Regions from separate parts of the Homo sapiens genome. Here regions 2 and 3 are each linked to region 1. Evidence: promoter capture Hi-C in 16 types of primary human blood cells and fetal thymus (Javierre and others, 2016). All regions are on one chromosome and are shown on one strand. The core of a region is centred on a gene start or on the middle of the fragment in contact, and the rest is flanking DNA. Distances in the headings are between cores, read along the strand shown. Region 1 holds the start of STT3A-AS1 (STT3A antisense RNA 1). Region 2 overlaps LINC03136 (long intergenic non-protein coding RNA 3136). Region 3 has its middle 4.4 kb from the start of CDON.

The links. Contacts are between HindIII fragments. The CHiCAGO score rates a contact against its expected background, and 5 or more counts as called.
Region 2: a contact is called between a fragment that was not itself captured here and the fragment with the promoter of STT3A-AS1 in region 1, in 11 of 17 cell types (naive B cells, non-activated CD4 T cells, endothelial precursors and 8 more). The highest score is 10.8, in naive B cells.
Region 3: a fragment that was not itself captured here is called in contact with the fragment with the promoter of STT3A-AS1 in region 1 in 1 of 17 cell types (naive CD8 T cells); the score reaches 5.5 in naive CD8 T cells.

Annotation. Positions count from the first base shown.
Region 1 is chr11:125,590,596-125,593,963 of GRCh38, forward strand. STT3A-AS1 (STT3A antisense RNA 1) reads right to left here and starts at 1,973. Exons shown (of 4, transcript NR_132372.1): 1 at 1,823-1,973. STT3A (STT3 oligosaccharyltransferase complex catalytic subunit A) reads left to right here and starts at 2,257. Exons shown (of 18, transcript NM_152713.5): 1 at 2,257-2,323. RefSeq lists enhancers at 1,242-1,411, 1,529-2,123. The HindIII fragment of the contact is 3,144 bases long and covers 1-3,133 here.
Region 2 is chr11:125,877,338-125,880,482 of GRCh38, forward strand. It overlaps LINC03136 (long intergenic non-protein coding RNA 3136), which reads right to left. Exons shown (of 2, transcript XR_007062935.1): 1 at 1-3,145. Among named protein-coding and RNA genes, the nearest start is that of LINC03136, 3.9 kb to the right of the region's middle. The HindIII fragment of the contact is 1,712 bases long and covers 519-2,230 here.
Region 3 is chr11:126,065,520-126,068,940 of GRCh38, forward strand. It overlaps the pseudogene NAP1L1P1. Among named protein-coding and RNA genes, the nearest start is that of CDON, 4.4 kb to the left of the region's middle. The HindIII fragment of the contact is 5,217 bases long and covers 1-3,421 here.

The DNA of each region.
Region 1 (3,368 bases), core at 723-3,222:
ATTCTAAGAAACATGTTTAATACTTTTTTTTTTTTTTTTGGTGGGAGAGTCTTGCTCCGTTGTCCAGGCTGGAGTGCAATGGCGTGATCTCAGCTCACTGCAACCTCTGCCTCCTGGGTTGAAGCAATTCTACTGCCTCAGCCTCCTGAGTAGCTGAGATTACAGGAGCCCACCATCGCGCCTGGCCTACTTTGAAAAAAATTAATAAAAACTCTAACATCTTAATATTCTTTTTCTTTTTTTGAGACGGAGTTTCGCTCTTGCTGCCCAGACTGAAGTGCAATGGCGCGATCTTGGCTCACTGCAACCTCCAACTCCTGGGTTTAAGCGATTCTCCTGCCTCAGCCTCCCAAGTAGCTGGGATTACAGGATCCTGACACCAAGCCCAGCTAATTTTTGTATTTTTAGTAGAGATGGGGTTTCACCATGTTGGTGAGGCTGTTCTCAAACTCCTGACCTCAGGTGATTCACCCGCCTCGGCCTCCCAAAGTGCTGGGATTACAGGCGTGAGCCACCGCGACCGGCCTTAATATTCTTAGGTTAATACTTAAAAAAAAACAAAAGAAACTTGAACACAATCTTTCTAATTTTAATGCCCCCCTCCCCGCTTTTTTATTTTTAAAGAGAAAAAACTTCTTTTTGAGACGGAGTCCAGCTCTGTCGCCAGGCTGGAGTGCAGTGGCACGATCTCGGCTCACTGCAACCTCCGACTCCCTGGTTCAAGTGATTCTGTGTCAGCCTCCCGAGTAGCTGGGATTACAGGCACGCGCCACCACGCCCAGCTAATTTTTCTATTTTTAGTAGAGACGGGTTTCACCATGTTGGCCAGGATGGTCTCTACCTCCTGACCTCGTGATCCGCCCGCCTTGGCCTCCCAAAGTGCTGGGATTACAGGGGTGAGCCACCGCGCCCGACCAAAACTCGTATTTTGAAGAAGCATTTACTCCAAGTTCTGTAATTCCTTCAGGCTCAGCTTCAGTTTCCTTTTGTTAAAGTAAAATTACATCGAACACTTACTACTAAAAACAAAACCAAAAAAAAGCAGATCTATTGAATCATAACGTCCTGGGGCGAGCCTGGTCATGTGGATTTTGAAAAAAATGCATGTGATTCTGAAGCAGTGATTTAAATAATGACCTTTCAATAAGTGGTGGGTTCCGTTCATGGGAGAATAGGAAACTGCGTGAGTGGTAGAGGCAACAAGTTCGAAGAGCTGCGAGACGTTCCCACTCTCTCTGGTGTAGCCTTGGCTCACCGAGGCGCGCAGGGAGTGGAAGTGCCTGAGGATAAAGGTGTACACGTGCGAGTCTGAGATGATGGAATTGCTGCTCAAACTTCGTCCCCTTCTCTGCCCTCAGCAAACTTATTGGGGGTCGGGGAGCGCGTGGGGTGCGAGAGAAGAGAGGCAAGTTAGGATAGGGAGAGCGGCTCTCTGGCCGGTATTTTAACAAAGGGCTGAACTGACTAAGCATGGCCGGGCTGCCTCCCGGTCTCCCGAGGAAGCCCGCTTGCTGCTGGGGAGGGCTGTGCCTCCGCGGCGGTGGCTGTCTCAGCTGGCAGTAGAAATGCTTCCAGCTTAGCCCCGACAACCCCTTTAGGCCTAGGCACGCTCTTTCACAAAACCAGGGGCTGTGAACTCTGTCAAGGTTCCCAGGTCCATCGCAGTTACCAAGGCACAGTAAAAGCTCGAGTCAACTATCAGGCACATCCTGCAAAAGACGAACTGTCTGGACCAGTCCGCGTTTGAGTTTTAATTGAGAATAAATAGGTAGAAAATGCTTCCCTCCTCTCCTTTCACCTTGTATTAGGTAACAATTTCTACCTTAAAAAAGACGGGAGACGAGCGGCTCCGCATTCCGAGTTACTGGGACTTGGAGCAAGGGCCTATTTCAGCGTAGTTTCCGCTTCTTGTCACATGACGGGAGTCAGTGGGCCGCGCCTTCCCACTGCGACTCCCCGTGGGTCCGCAAACCGACACGTCACTCCTCGGCCCTCAACCAAACTGCTTGGGGCACGTTCTTTCCGCGCTCTTGACTCCTACGCGCCGGCCTATGACAGCTCGGCGGGAGCATACAGACCTGCCTCTAGACTGCTAAGTGATAGCTGTAATGACCAATTAAAAACTTGAATCGCGGCCCGGTTTACGCCTCCGGATTTGACAGACAGTTCCGAGACCCTATCGCTCTCCAGAAGCGTCCTATTGGCCTGGAGCCAGCCAACGGGGGAGCGGTCCGGGAGGCGGACCCGGCTCCTGCCAGGGTTGGGTGCGCCGCTGAACGGATGGCTGAGGGAGCCCCGCGGATCGTTTAGGAAAGCCGGCCAGGTGAGAAGGCCGTAGAACGTAACTTGAAAATCAGCGGCAGGTGCAGTCCATGGCGTTGATGGGGCTGAACGAAGTGCAGGAGGCAAAACTCTAAATGGGGGTGGAGAGCAGAGCTTAGGGCCTTGCAGAGGAGGGGGCGTGGGGCGTGGTGTGGGGGCTTCCTGGATGGAAGGATGCGAAGGTCTAGGGAGGGAGGGTAAGGTGGGTCTTGAGAACAGAGCGTGGGAAAGACTGGGTCCTGGGACTAGTTATGGAGGGGAAGGCGCGTAGGATGCTGGGGTGATGAGTGTCCCGCGCTGAGGGGTATCAGAGGTGGTCAGTTCTTTGAGGGTGGGAAGAAGAGGGAGGTGGGACCCGCTGGAACGACCGGAAGGGAGAAGAGAGTAAAAGATCGTGAGAGGGTGTGGAAACGTGTGTAGGAAAACGGGGCTGGGGAAATTGCAGTCTGGGAAACTAGAGGCAGGGTGGCAGGAGATGCCACAGCTTGCAGGGCACAGTTGAGGAGAGCAGGTTGGTAAGTGTTTTAAGAAAGGTGTCTTTGCTCTTATTTGCTTGGCGGTGTGCGAAAGTGACCAAAGAGCACGAGATGAAATCTCCCTTACGGCCCTGCCCTCAATGACTAGCTCGTTTACTCAAGTTTTCAAGTAGAGATCCTAGCAGTCTCATTTTGGTGTGTGGCTCGTATCAACGCAGTGGTGTTAAGTTTGTTCCTATTTCAGGCATTCCAGAAAACAGCTGCAAACCCTGAGAGATATGGCTGGATTGTTGACCTCCTGGAGTAGTTAGGCCTTTATTTTTAGTTGCAAAGTAAGCTTTCCCTTTGGGACTATACTTAAACACATTTCTAAACTGCTCTTCTGGGACAGTTAATTATGGAGAACATGCTTGACTTCTCAGTGTTGGGGCTAGCATTCTATATGCCTTCCACCTAGTCCAGTGTTGTTGTTGTTTTGTTTTTCTCCTTTATTCCAATAATAGTGGGAAAAAAGATTCATGGAGGAGGATAGACAAACGTTTGTTAAGGGATACACAAGTACAACTAGAT
Region 2 (3,145 bases), core at 125-2,624, 290 kb after region 1:
GCGGGTGCCTGTAGTCCCAGCTACTCGGGAGGCTGAGGCAGGAGAATGGCGTGAACCCGGGAGGCGGAGCTTTCAGTGAGCCAAGATTGCACCACTGCACTCCAGCCTGGGCGACAGAGTGAGACTCCATCTCAAAAATAAAATAAAATAAATTAAATTAAATTAAATTAAAAATAAAAAAAGAAGTATCAAGACAAAAACGTCAATAGTGCTGAGGTTGAGAAACCCTGATTTACAACATTAATATCTTTCACTCTGCATCAACATTTACAACATCTGTCCCTCCCAAATGAGGAATCTCATTTATTATTAGTAATTTCAGGACAGGAACTAAGTGAAATAAATTACTAAGTGAAAGGTAGTAACTAAATGTTCTTCTTCTGAGGGATCCCAAGGCTAAAATTACCAAAAATGAAAATAAAGCAAAATTAATTCAACCAAACTTGATTTTCATTGTACATGTGGCAATACTAGATGTTATGAATAACAACAAATGTAAGACATATGGTGCCCCAAAAAGCTTAATATTCTTGAGAGAATAAGACACATATACTTGGAAAAGTAATAACAGTAAGGCAAATTGTGAGTAAAAATGCTTAATATGTAAGTAAGAATAATTGAGAAAAATGAGTTGGCCTTTAAAAAATAGATTTAAGAAGAAAAGAATTTTAGAATGGAAGCAATTAACAATATCTCATTTAACTATTGATTTTGTAGGTGAAGTAGCTGAAACACAGACTGACTAACTTATCCAAATTATGAGAGCAAATTACTGAGACCAGAACTTTAGTCTCCTGATTCCTGATCCTTTGTTGCTGTTTCCTGTATAACACACTGCCTTTGTGATTGCTGGAAAGACATAAACAGAGAAGGCCGTGTATGACTATCAGTGGAAATGTACATCATCTCTTCATCATCATCATCATCATGTAGCAATGCTAGATGTTGTGAATACTAGATGCTGATTCTCAATCCTGGATATGTTGACCTCACGGTGGACATTTGGTGATGTCTGGGGACATTTTTGATTGTCCATCATCATCAGAGCTGACATTTGAGTGTTTAGTAAACATACTGGTGAAGGGTTCACATTATGAAATATCAGAAAGTAAGATTGGAAAGGAATGAGCATCTCAAGAAGAAAAGATAAGACTAAACAGAATAGTAACAGTCTCGATCTAAATGTTGTAGATGTTAAATGACAAATAAAAGCAAGTGCTACAAAAATTTCAAAGATGGTCAGATTCCGATGGCTTAAGGGTAGTTAGGCAGGGCTTGGTAGAAGAGGTGAGTTGGAGCTGAGAATTCAAGAGCTCCACAGGATTTGGAAAGAGAGGAGAGGTCAATCTAGATAAAGAAGGCAGTATAGGGCACAGAGTTAAATAAACCAAGTGGCTTTCAGGACAGCGAAGAAACAAAACTAGCTAGAGTAGAGGACTTGAGTAGAGGGGAAATAAGACTGAAAAGGCACGATGGCTCCAGATTGTGCAGGAACCCAGGCAAACTGAATTTACTCTGGCAAAGAGAAGTCACTGCAAGTGCTTAAGCAGAATAACTTGATTAAAGTTTTAGGAAGATTCATCTGGCAATGACGTAGGATGGATTGAGCCAAGAGAGATATAAGGGAAGGCAGGGAGCTATTCATCTAATAAGAGTAAGAATAAAGAATAACAATACTATACAATATCTATAATGTATTTAGTTATTATTACTTGGTAGACACTGTGCTAACATGCACTTTTTAATTTAATTCTCATCACAACCCTACAAAGGAAATTGAATTAGTGAACATTTTTTCCCCTCCACTCTCACATACCACTCAACACAACACTTCCCACACCACATGTGTGGGAGTTATTTCCCCACACACCAAGCAATCAGCTCTGCAGTGGACATCAGCTGGGTGTCTTCTAGTTCAATTATGATTCTATATACTTGGAAATAGGGTCAAATCCCACAGGTTGAGGGCTCAGGCCCGCAAGAATTCCCCCCGCTTCAGATGCCAGTCACAAGTAGTAGACTGTCACCCATACTTCTGACTGACCAGCAATAAATTGGGAGCCCCTACAACCCCCTCCTTAGATTCAGTTAACTTGCTAGAGCAGCTTACAGAACTCAGGCAAACATTTTACTTACATCAACTCACTAATTACGGAGGATATTACAAAGGATACAGATGAACAGCCAGCTGGAAGAGGTACATAGGGCAAGGCATGTGAGGGGGGTATGAAGCTTCCATGCCCTCTCTGAGCATGCCACCCTCAAGGAACCTCTATATGTTCAGCTATTCAGAAGCTCCCCACAAGCTATCCTTTTAACTTTTTATGGAAACTTTATTACATAGGCATGATTGATTACACTGGTCATTGGTGATCAACTCAGTCTGCAGCCTCTCTCCCCTCCCTGGTGGCTGGGAGATGGGGCTGAAAGTCCCAACACTCATCATGCCTCGGTCTTTCTGGTGACCAGCCCCCATCCTGCAACCAGTCATCTCACTAGCATTCAAAAGCCACTCTTATCATTTAAGAGATTTCAAAGGTGAGATTTCTAGCCTGGGTGAGATGTTGTCCAGGCTAGAGTGCAGTGGTGTGATCATAGCTCACTACAGCCTCTACCTCCCATGCTCAAGTGTATTATCCCCATTTTATAAGTGAGAAAATTGAGTCAAAGAGATGCTAAGTAACTTGTCCTTATCACAAACTAGGGAGTAGAGAAGGCAGAATTTGTACCTAGATAATATGACACCATAATATGAGCTTATATTCTGAACTATGCCATGTAAACAAAGTATGGGAGGCCACTGTTTGGACTAGCTTCCTGCACGAGGTTCCAAGAGATCAAACCAACCAGAATGAAGTCGTTCACATTAGGTGCCACATAATCAAACTGACCTCTGAAACAGGCCAGTTTTCCAAAAACAGAAGATTCATAGCAGCCAATCAGGAGTACGGATTACCTAAGCTAGCATGATGAGGATGTTCCCTGTTTTAACACTATAAGGAAAGAAATTTTGAACCGACCAATCTACTTTTTGTTCCATTTCTGCTTTCTTCTACCCTTTTCTGCCTATGAAGCCAAACTCCTCTGCTCACTTCATCTGAACACTCATTCTATTTTATAAAATGAGGTGTTGATTCTGGAATCA
Region 3 (3,421 bases), core at 753-3,252, 470 kb after region 1:
AGCAGCAGAAACAGACTAAGACACTATGGGGCCTCCAACCACAGATGTCCACTATGTAGAGAACTCCAAGTGGAAATACGGATTTAAACGTCATCAGCATAAAGTAGTGTTTATACCATTAAAGTGGAAGCGATCTCTCAGGAATAATATGGAACCAGAAAGTTGTAGCCAAGGATGGATCTCTAAAACTCCAATAACTAAAGCCCCCAATTATCTTGATGAATTTGGAGCAAAGGCTGTTTACTGAACTCAAGGTATGGGACTTGAAAAGGATGCTTGAAGAAGGTGGTGAAGGTTTGGAATAGTCATTAGGAAAAATGAGAGTTGAAAAATGAAAGTAGAAAATCACTCAGAGAATTGATAAGTGATGCTGAGGGCCTGGCTGAGGTTGGAGACCATTAATGTATGGTGATGGAGCTTGCATGATTATGTGGTTTTCTCCATCAAAATTTAATCAGTCAGGTAGAAGGGGAAAAGCATAACACCAACCCAATTTTGAAGTTTTTCTGGAAGTTGTACAAGAAGGAAAATAACACACGGTATTGGTAAGAAAATTTTTAAAACAGCAATCATAGAATCCAGGCAGTGGAAAAGGTGTAAGAGGTTTGAGAAGAATAATAGACTGGAAAAATTACAAATTAAAGAAAAGGAGATATGTATGACATTAAAGAGCTGTTGTTACAGGATTGAGTAAGAAAGAACCAAGAAGTCTTTGGTAATAACCAGAGTTTACCATTTCAGAAGTAGAACAGTTCCAAGTAATGATTAGATCTAGTATGTTTACCGGTGCTGGTGGACGATGTGGATGATTTATGCCGTCAGGGGACATATTGAAGGAACTGAGAGGCTGATAAATGAAATACCATGAGCCAAGTACTCAAGTCCTCAGGGATGAGGTGGGAAGGTTGTTAGATACTAAGTGACATTTAATACATTCCAGGCCTGAAGTGGGTGCTTTTATAATACTCAATACATGTTAAAATTGGTTCTCCAAGGCCGGGCGCGGTGGCTCACACCTGTAATCCCAGCACTTTGAGAGGCCGAGGCGGGCAGATCATGAGGTCAGGAGATCAAGACCATCCTGGCTGACATGGTGAAACCCCGTCTGTACTAAAAATACAAACAATCAGCCAGGCGTGATGGTGGGTGCCTACAGTCCCAGCTACTCGGGAGGCTGAGGCAGGAGAATGGCATGAACCCAGGAGGCGGAGCTTGCAGTGAGCCGAGATCCCATCACTGCACTCCAGCCTGGGCGACAGAGCAAGACGCCATCTCAAAAACAAAAACAAAAATGGTTCTCCAAGAATAACATAATAGAGTAACTAGAGTCCATAAACTTGTATCACATTCTGACTGTACCTTATTTGATCTTGGTCAAATAACTTAAACTCTTGGAGTCTTGATTTCATCATTTGTAAAGTTGTAAATGACTTCATCATTTGTAAAGAGTAATAATACCTCATATAGAGTTGTTAATAGGACCTACTTCAGTGGTTTGCTAGGAGGATTAATTGAGATGATACACACAAAGCACTTAATACAGTGATTGGCAAGTAGCAAACACTGGATAAAAGTGTTTTTAACATAAATAAAAGCTATTTATAATAATAATAGTTAATGCTTATATAGTTCCTTCTGTGCACCAAGTATTATTTTAAGCATTAGTCCCAAATTACAAATGAGAAAACTGAGACATGAAGTGCCTTGACCATAGTCACACGGCTAGTCAGTGTCAGAGCTCATATTAAAACTCAGGTAATCTGTGTCTAGAGGCTGGACTCTTAATTATTACACATTAATGTCTCCCTACAATAATGGGAAGTATTTTTATTAATATCACTTCAAATAAATTGATCAGTTAAACTGATCTGTTCTTTTTTAGCACCATTTGCTCGCAGTGCCGCCTCCTGCTCCTCCTGCCGCCACTGCCGCCCTGAGTCACTGCCTGCGCAGCTCAGGCCTCCTGGCTTCCCATACTAGCTGCCGATATTTGGAGTTCTTATAACATGGCAGACACTGACAATCTGAACTTGATCGAGATTTGGATGATGTTGAAGAAGTACATGAAGAAGAAACTGGTGAAGAAACAAAAATCAAAGCACATCAGCTAACTGTTCAGATAATGCAAAGTCCTCAGATTCTTGCAGTCCTTCAAGAAAGACTTGATGTTCTGGTAGAAACACCAACAGGATACACTGAAAGCCTGCCTAGGGTAGTTAAAAGACGAGTGAATGCTCTCAAAAACCTGCAAGTTAAATTAAATGTGCACAGATAGAAACCAAATTCTATGAGGAAGTTCACGATCTTGAAAGGAATATGCTGTTCTCTATCAGCCTCTATTTGATAAGCGATTTGAGATTATTAATGAAATTTATGAACCCACAGAAGAACAATGTGAATGGTAACCAGATAAAGAAGATGAGATTTCAGAGGAGTTGAAAGAAAAGGCCAAGATCGAAGATGAGAAAAAGGATGAAGAAAAAGAAGACCCCAAAGAAATTCCTGAATTTTGGTTAACTGTTTCTAAGAATGTTGACTTGTTCAGTGATATGGTTCAACAACATGATGAACCTATTCTGAAACACTTGAAAGATACTAAAGTGAAGCTCTCAGATGCTGACCAGCCTATGAATTTTGTCTTAGAATTTCACTTTGAACCCAATGAATATTTTACAAATGAAATGCTGTCAAAGACATACAGGATGAGGTCAGAACCAGATGATTCTGATCCCTTTTCTTTTGATGGACCAGAAATTATGGGTTGCACAGGGTGCCAGATAGATTGGAAAAAAGGAAAGAATGTCACTTTGAAAACCATTAAGAAGAAGCAGAAACACAAGGGAAGTGGGACAGTTCATACTGTGACTAACACAGTTTCCAATGACTCTTTAATTTGTTTGCCCCTCCTGAAGTTCCTGAGAGTGGAGATCTGGATGATGATGCTGAAATCCTTGCACAGACTTCAAAATAGGTCACTTTTTACGTGAGCGTATAATCCCAAGAGCAGTGTCATACTTTACTGGAGAAGCTATTGAAGTTGATGATGATGTTTATGATGAAGAAGGTGAAGAAGCGGATGAGGTAATGTTTACCAAATGAGCAAATAATTCTCTGTGTTTAACACATTGAGAAGCAAATTGAATGACTTATGTATTCCTTTGCTATAATCATTCTGCAATTTGGGTTAAAAACATTTTGGAGGCCGGGCGCGGTGGCTCACGCCTGTAATCCCAGCACTTTGGGAGGCCGAGGCGGGTGGATCATGAGGTCAGGAGATCGAGACCATCCTGGCTAACAAGGTGAAACCCCGTCTCTACTAAAAATACAAAAAATTAGCCGGGCGCGGTGGCGGGCGCCTGTAGTCCCAGCTACTCGGGAGGCTGAGGCAGGAGAATGGCGTGAACCCGGGAAGCGGAGCTTG